Linked DNA regions of Homo sapiens: region 2 is linked to region 1. Evidence: promoter capture Hi-C in human tissues and cell types (Jung and others, 2019). All regions are on one chromosome and are shown on one strand. Each heading gives the region's core, a stretch centred on a gene start or on the middle of the fragment in contact. The rest is flanking DNA. Distances are from core to core; before and after follow the strand shown. Region 1 holds the start of GSX2 (GS homeobox 2). Region 2 overlaps SCFD2 (sec1 family domain containing 2).

The links. The method cuts DNA at HindIII sites, captures the fragments that hold promoters and counts their contacts. A contact is called where the count stands out against the background at its distance.
Region 2: a fragment that was not itself captured here is called in contact with the fragment with the promoter of GSX2 in region 1 in 1 of the 25 tissues and cell types used here (lymphoblastoid cells).

Annotation. Positions count from the first base shown.
Region 1 is chr4:54,098,285-54,102,345 of GRCh38, forward strand. It overlaps GSX2 (GS homeobox 2), which reads left to right and starts at 1,879. Exons shown (of 2, transcript NM_133267.3): 1 at 1,879-2,634; 2 at 3,298-4,061. The coding sequence starts at 2,061. The coding sequence ends at 3,638. RefSeq lists enhancers at 1,723-2,513, 2,514-3,305, 3,306-4,061. The HindIII fragment of the contact is 7,597 bases long and covers 1-3,536 here.
Region 2 is chr4:53,193,465-53,197,525 of GRCh38, forward strand. All of the region lies in intron 4 of SCFD2 (sec1 family domain containing 2), which reads right to left. Among named protein-coding and RNA genes, the nearest start is that of SCFD2, 170 kb to the right of the region's middle. RefSeq lists an enhancer at 1,843-4,061. The HindIII fragment of the contact is 8,584 bases long and covers 1-4,061 here.

The sequences.
Region 1 (4,061 bases), core at 629-3,128:
AATATCCTGCCATTCAGCAGGGTATGTTTTTTATTGCCATTCTCCATCAGTGGCTCCAAGCCTTCTTCTTGGGGCTGAAATGATTTCGGGGATTGCCTAGATCCTCCAGTCATGAACAAGGGCGGGCTGGGGTGAGCCTGAGCGTCTGCAGACCTTGTGGTACAAAAGTAGTTACAGCTGAGCTGCCCCATGTTAAGCCCTGAGACTCCTTAATTGTTGTCACAAGATGTTGGATTAGCACATTTCTGGAATAGCTGTCTGTTTACACTCCAGAGACCCACCGTCCACTAACCGCTTTCTAATTGAATTCTAATCACATTCAAATAGCTCAATAACCAGCCTCAGCTGCAATTCATAAAACTTTAATTGCCATCCATAAATCCTGGGCTCCCCAGAGCCGGGCATCCCTACAACCCAATTACACTTCTCTAGCAGGCAAGAGAGACTGTCACAGAGATGGAGAGGGGAAGACAGAGGATGGAAAGATAGAGCCGTGCCTCTAGCTAGTGCTCTCCTGGATTTGGGCACCTTGTTCTCTCAGGTGGAGGGAGTCCTGTCTCTAAGTTTCTTAGCACCATCATGAACTCAGGATTGAAGTTAGCTGCTCTGGAAAAAGGATCAGACTTCTAACTATTGCCCAACCACATGGCCCCAGCCCGCTTTTCTGCAGGGGGAAATGAAGAGAGAAAATGGCCACCTCTGCTGCCTTGCCTTCTCCGAAGATAAATAGTCCCAATAGTTTGGCAGCCACCCTCTCTCGGGCAGTAAGGGGTGTGCAAGACTTCCATGGACCAGAGAGAGTTCCCTTACAAAGCCACTTCTGCCAATCAGAGGCAAGATTCCCTGGATGGCTGAATCCTCTTCATCCTTTTTAGGTTCTTAAGATGCAGAGGAAAGAGTGCTTCCTGGTTAGCCTTGCTAAGCTGCCCATGATTGGTAAAAATGAGGGACAGGAAATCCTCAGACCCAGAGCGAAGGTCTATCTAATCCCTGCTGCGTCTTTAGGAGGGCTTGGTGTTTGAGGTCCTCCCTCCAAAATCTTCAGGATGGAGTTTGTAGGATTGCCCTGGAATGCCATGGTGTTACTACTTGGAGAAAGAAAAGGGTGACTCTTCAACATCTCTCTCTCTCTGCGGAAGTGGGAGGTGCCGATCAGAAAGGGAAACAAGGAAGGGTCGTTGGTCTGAGTGGCCCCAGGAGGGCCCCAAGTACAAAGACACTTCAGACCTTGTCGAACATCAGCATGAAAAGCTTGACGGTTTCTTAGCTGGGAGGCCTCACAGTTCTGCGCCGGACAGTCCTGAACTAACCACCTGAATGACCTCTGCCAAGTCCAAAAGCTGTGGACAGGGGTAGGTGTAACCGTGGCCAGAGCTGCGCTCAGGGACTGGACGACTGCCAGTCCGTCGCCCGCACAATCCTGCTCCAAACCGCAGGCCTCACACTTCACCGCGCCGCAGCCACCCCTACCACAGAGGAGCTGGAAACACTGAGCATTCCTATTAAATAAGCCTCCAAGTCCCCACCTGGTACGCTTTGCGGTGGGGCGTGGGGAAGAGTTGGGCTGCGGCCAGGGTAGCGAGAGGGGGTGGGATGGAGGATGCAGCGCTGTGATTTCTCAGTAAAGCGTGGAGAAAGAGGGGGAGGAGGCCGGCCTCCCCGGGAAATTAACAAAACCTACACTTTGCAAAGTCTCCCCCATCCCCCTCCCCCGAGTTCTTCCCCGCCGCGCGCCCGCCCCTCCTCGCGGCTTCTGTTGTGACTCGGGCAGCCTATCCCGAGGGTGCGGAGCTGCCGAGGAGCCTGAGCCGAGCGGTACTCCGCAGCATCACGTGCCAGGGTGGGGGGCTATAAAATACCCGAGCCGGGGCGCCGGGCGGGGGACGTGAGGACCAGCCCTCTCCGGGGACCCCTTTGTTCCCAGCCCAGACGCCAACACCTCTGCGTCCCCAAGGGCTTGACTGCCCGTGTCTGCGCGGCTCCCAGGGCAGAGCTTAGAACACTAGAGGAGAGGGGTCGCCGCGAACTGCCGGGGCTTCCAGCCACCCACCCCTCTCGACATGTCGCGCTCCTTCTATGTCGACTCGCTCATCATCAAGGACACCTCACGGCCTGCGCCCTCGCTGCCTGAACCGCACCCCGGGCCGGATTTCTTCATCCCGCTTGGCATGCCGCCCCCATTGGTGATGTCCGTGTCCGGCCCCGGCTGCCCGTCCCGCAAGAGCGGCGCGTTCTGCGTGTGCCCTCTCTGCGTCACTTCGCACCTGCACTCCTCTCGGGGGTCTGTGGGCGCCGGCAGCGGGGGCGCAGGGGCCGGGGTTACCGGGGCCGGAGGCAGTGGGGTGGCAGGGGCCGCAGGGGCACTGCCTCTGCTTAAGGGCCAGTTCTCTTCGGCTCCTGGGGACGCGCAGTTTTGCCCGCGGGTGAACCATGCGCATCATCACCACCACCCGCCGCAGCACCACCATCACCATCATCAGCCCCAGCAGCCTGGCTCGGCCGCGGCGGCGGCAGCAGCAGCAGCGGCGGCGGCGGCCGCGGCGGCCTTGGGGCACCCGCAGCACCACGCACCTGTCTGCACCGCCACCACCTACAACGTGGCGGACCCGCGGAGATTCCACTGCCTCACCATGGGTAGGGCGGGGTCTTGGGGCACCTGCGCTCCGCGCCTTTCGCGCTCCTGGAGCAAACTTTCCACCTCCAGTGGAGGAAGTGGGAGCCCGGGGACAGGGTGAAGAGAGAGGACGGGCTTTTAGTGTAACCGTAGAGTCAGCCACAGAAGTTCCACGAAAGTGGAAGTTAGTTTGCCAGCTTCTCCACTCAGCCTGGTGCGTTTTACTCCTAGTAGTAGGTGCTCGAGTATTGCCTTATTAATACTGGGGCCTTAGGGACCTCGAACGTCACGGCGGATAAACCAGAGGTTAACTGCTTGGGATTTGGGGTGGGTGTGTTTGAACCTGTGTGGCATCCCCGCGTCGGGGCGGCTAAAGCGTCTTGACGTTTTTGGCTAAGCCTGCGCGCTTCTCCGCTTGGCTCAAAGGGAGGCGATCAGATAGTGCAAGCCCCCATCCCTCTTTAATCCTGTGACTTCGCATCCTGCGCATCGAAGACCTTTATTTGCTTTGCACGTCTCTTTTCTTCCCCGCTAAGCAACCACGTGCCTTGAAATGGGAAAGGGATACAGATGTTCGGCTGGGCTTCCCCGGGTGGGTCCCTGAAATGCGTCCTGGTTAGCACATGGGGTGGGAGCACCTTGCCCGAGCCTTACCTCTCTACCCTCTCTTCGCCGGTCCGCAGGAGGCTCTGACGCCAGCCAGGTACCCAATGGCAAGAGGATGAGGACGGCGTTCACTAGCACGCAACTCCTGGAGCTGGAGAGAGAATTCTCTTCCAACATGTACCTGTCTCGACTCCGGAGGATTGAAATCGCCACTTACCTGAACCTGTCGGAGAAGCAGGTGAAAATCTGGTTTCAGAACCGCCGAGTGAAGCACAAGAAGGAGGGGAAGGGCACGCAGAGGAACAGTCACGCGGGCTGCAAGTGCGTCGGGAGCCAGGTGCACTACGCGCGCTCCGAGGATGAGGACTCCCTGTCGCCGGCCTCAGCCAACGATGACAAGGAGATTTCCCCCTTATGAGGGAGGGCCTCCTCCCTCACATCCCCCGCTCCTGGCAGACCAGGCAACGCCAAGGCGTGGGGCACCCAGGGGCCAGAATCCTTGCTCATTGCAGTGGTCCCATCTGGAGAAGAAACGAACCTGGAAGTTCTGGAATGGACAAGCCGGGACCTGACCCTTCGCGTCTCCTTCTTGACCTGTTTATCTAGGACTCCAACTTGAAGTTACAGATTTTTTTAAAAAATGTAAATAACCTATAATTCAACTCATTCTTGTCGTATAACAGAGGAAAAACAGGGTTGGTTTAAGTTTAACACTGTATGGGGTTTTTGAAAGCACATGTCAGTTCCCCATCCCTACTCTCTTTCAGAACTCGATAAGAACACAGGATTTATTGATTATTTTCTGTTGTCGTTTTCAAACAAAAACACCCAAGTTGAAAAT
Region 2 (4,061 bases), core at 1,038-3,537, 900 kb before region 1:
TCTATGGACTTCAGTAATTTGCTATTGAAAATTAATCAAAATGGTCCACAGGTCATTGGTCAGGTTTATTCAGTCATCAAAAAACCTCGCCTAATTAACCAAATAGATTATGAAAAATGTCTTCTCTGGAAACCTTCACCTTACCAACAAAGGGAACTTTTGAGACTAAACAAAGCCAAGAGCAGTTACTTATATGCCAAATTAAGACCTCTGTTTAAGGGGGAAAAGAAAAGTACAATGGAGTACATGAAGAAATATTTTTCTTGCCTTTTTAAAAATATAGAACTTTGAGTACTTTTTGTTTCTATCACCGTTGTTTTTAAAATATTTTATTCTTATCAAAGTAAAATATAAGCATGGTTCATAAGATTCTATTCAAATAGGACAGAATAATTTACAATGAAAAGCAGCAGCCTCCTACCTCACCCCTTCCCAAGTCTGCGCCTACTTCTCAGAGAAAATCACTTTGGGTTGATTTTTGGTTTGGGTTACTCTGGCGATCAGCATCAAGTCATAAAATAGAGTGCTATAATTACACCACTTCTTTTAAAAATCACTTTTTTAGCACTTTCTATTGGCTTCCTACTATGATGGATTAGAATTTAGCTTGCTTGCATCCCCACCCTACACATACAACCAACATATACACAGACAACGTACATTTATATAACACCTTTGGTTTCTCTATTGATTACCTTCTTCATTTAAAATACTATAGTTACACTTTTGTCTCTTCTTCCATCAACTATAGAGCATCCTTTTTGTCTCGTGTGTAAACATACTAACGAATGCAGTTTTCTTTTCCTTTTCACTCCTCCTGTCACTACTACTACCACTATGTTAGCTTATACCTCTGAGATTCTCTTTCTTTTGGTCAATGCTTATTCCAATTATGTAAAGAAAAAACTCACTATTATCTATTAAAACCTTTTTAGAACCTATAATTATATAAGTTATTGCTAGCAGTACATTTGTGCCTCACTTTTGAAGACTATTATTCACTATGAAAATCCACTCTAGTAACACATATATTCTTTTCTTCATATTACGGATGAACATAGATCAAATTTCTTAAAGAACTAAGTTTTACTCAGCCAAAGAAGTACCAGTAGTTTCAATTTATTGTTGAAACTAGAGGCTTTCCATAGTAGAAATCCATCATTAGAAAATAACACAGATTTAGGATAACTTAATGATTTGAAGGAAATCATAGACTAGCTGAGATGAACACAAACCATCTTTTATCTTAATCCTTCTCTACAGAGTATCAGCCTCCTAAACCAAAGATTTCTTTTCATCACTACCTGATGACCTCTGGCACAAATCACCCTATATCCCTTCTGTCTCCAACCCAGTACACACGAGCGACACTCTGTCTCAAAAAATTTAAAAAAAGATTTTATTTTCTCGTTTAGAGCCACACATTTGAGCATCATGGCTGTAGGTACAGATACAGCTGCTGATAAAAAGTCAATGGATTTGAACTGGACAGATTGGACATTAACAGGATTATAGGTTACAGATGTCATGTAAAAACCCCAAGTGGCTTTAAAAACAGAAAAGTCAGTATGTATCATGTAGTGGTAAAGCAGGCTAAGAGAATGGGCTCTACAGTCAGAATGGCTGGTTACAAGGACCGGCTCTGCCACGGCCAGTAGTGTGACTTGAGCATGTTACTCAAGCCTCTGTATCCCAGCTTCGTCAATTTAAAAATCGAGTGCTGTAAGGATTAAAAATAATGGTATATGTAAAGAACTTAACATTGGCATGGCATATAAGAACTTAACAAGTGAGATCCACTAAAATTATTAGGAGTAGTAGTAGTAATAGTATGTTATCGGTCAGAGACAACTTCCCCGATTTTTTTATGTTGGACCTAATCACATCTTTCACTTCTGCACATCTGGTGAAGTCAAATAAATGACTTTCCTTTTCAGAAACCTGCCTTTACCTCTAATTGTAGTCAAGGCAAATAGTCCTGATAGGCAAATAGCCCCCAGGTGACCCTTCTGGTCTGGGCTCACTGAGATATTAACCCCACATTCCTACGGATCCTGGTTTCACATTGTGTCCTTCAAATGCTTTCACCATGCCACTTCTCATAGTCAGCCCCAGTTTTTAAGGTGCATTTAAAATAAGCTTACATTTGGAACCAGCTAAGAATGCTAAAAACAGATGTGCTACTTTCCAGACAGACTGAAGAAATCGTACGAACAACTGATTCAGTACTACCTGGATTGTGACTAAAACCTATCAAATTATAGCTCCTGATAACAAGCCTGAAGAAAAAAGTTAATTTAGTGATAGTGCCCTGTTATTACACATTTAGGGCAAAGAAAAGTACATTTCTATGGCAATTTCCAAGATATTAAAAATGAGATAAAACCAGATGAGAGAAAAACAGAAATCTAGCTCAAGACTTAACATCACCATATGTGAAATATCAAATAAATAGCTACTCTAATCTCAAATGGTAATCTTTCCTTTCAGCCTTTCTCATTTTATTGGACCAAATATTTCAAGCCTCATCTGTGTTCTATTACAATCCTAAAGACAACATGATATCTAGGATAGTGTTTATATATAAAAATAATTTTAGATCAGGAGGTGACAGAAACTGATGTCCAGATTCCATTACCCTAAGACTTCATGTAATTACTTTGTCTTTTTAAAAATCCTTAAATGATCATTTTCTCCTTTGGCACAGAGTCTTTTGACTCCTCTTTTGATGCCAACATAGTCTCATCATGAAAATAAATTGAAAGTAGGTGGTCTGGTTAGTCTTCACAATGCTACATTTTAATCAGGCAAAGCAGTGAAAAACATGATTGTCGAAATGCTGGCGTGTCTTCAAACAACAGTGTATGCTGTCCATTTTACTCTCAGTGAAAAAGCTCTTCAAGAGATTTCGATAAAGGTTTCCTTCCTACTTGCAGTCCACATTTGTAATGTTTATATAAGTGGAGGATATAAATCTTTCTCCAATGAACCCCATGGTTTTTAAAGCAGATTCTTGTTATAAACTGCCTGTTTCCGTTTTGCCTGCCTAAGCAAGCCAGGCAAAGACCATTCGCGAGAGACTGGAACTAATTTAATGTGCTCCAGGTTTAAGCCCCTAGCCTCTGCGCCTTTGCAGGGAGATTTTACACAGTGGATTACTGCTGACTTTAACAATGATTCATATGATAAGTGGCTTTTGATTTGTTTTTTAATGTCAGAAAATATGCATTGGCAAAAGAAATGTCATTGAAATCATTTCGTTAAAGCAATATCCATAAAAAGGGGTGGGGGAAGGAGAATTCAACTTTTCATCAAAAAAAAAAAAGTCTAAATCATGCCAATGTCTTGTTCACATAAATTTATAGTTTTACTCAATGCAAAAGAATACAAAGCTATTTAGAGACAGCTAGATTTAAGACTGGATGAACTGCAAGATAGGATTGGTTGAATCGATATACTTTACCACAAAATTGGTTATTATTATTAAAATACCAAAGCCACACGGAAGATAGACAAAAGCATCATTCTTTATCCAGCCTCAAAGACACCCTGTGTGCTTTTTTCAAAGATTCACAATTCCTTGAAACCAACACTAATTAAAACAGAAACACATTCACAAAACCCGGAGTAAGATCCATCATCCCAAAGCATGGCGGGGGAGGAAAATTTCCTCTGTTTAACTCAAAGGAACAGAGCAGCAACAACATTAATTCAAAAGAAAACAAACTGAGAAACAAAAGTATGTATTATACTATTATTCTAGAGTTCTGCATTTAAGAGGCCTGAACTGTTCATCAAAACATACTTTCAAAATGCCAAATGTAATAAGATATGCTTGTCCCCAATCATCTGTTAGTTTCTTCTGGTTTTTCTTGAAGTTCCTTTGAAAGGATTATCCAAAGTCTTACAGTAGGGGGCAGTATTGTAACATCATGCTCACACTTAAAAGGACTCCAGGTCAGCCCAAAAGAGGAAAAAGGGCCATTATTCATAAAGACTTAACTATGTTGGCATAATTACAGAAATTATTACAAAATTTCAGATTTTTTCCCCAAAGCCTA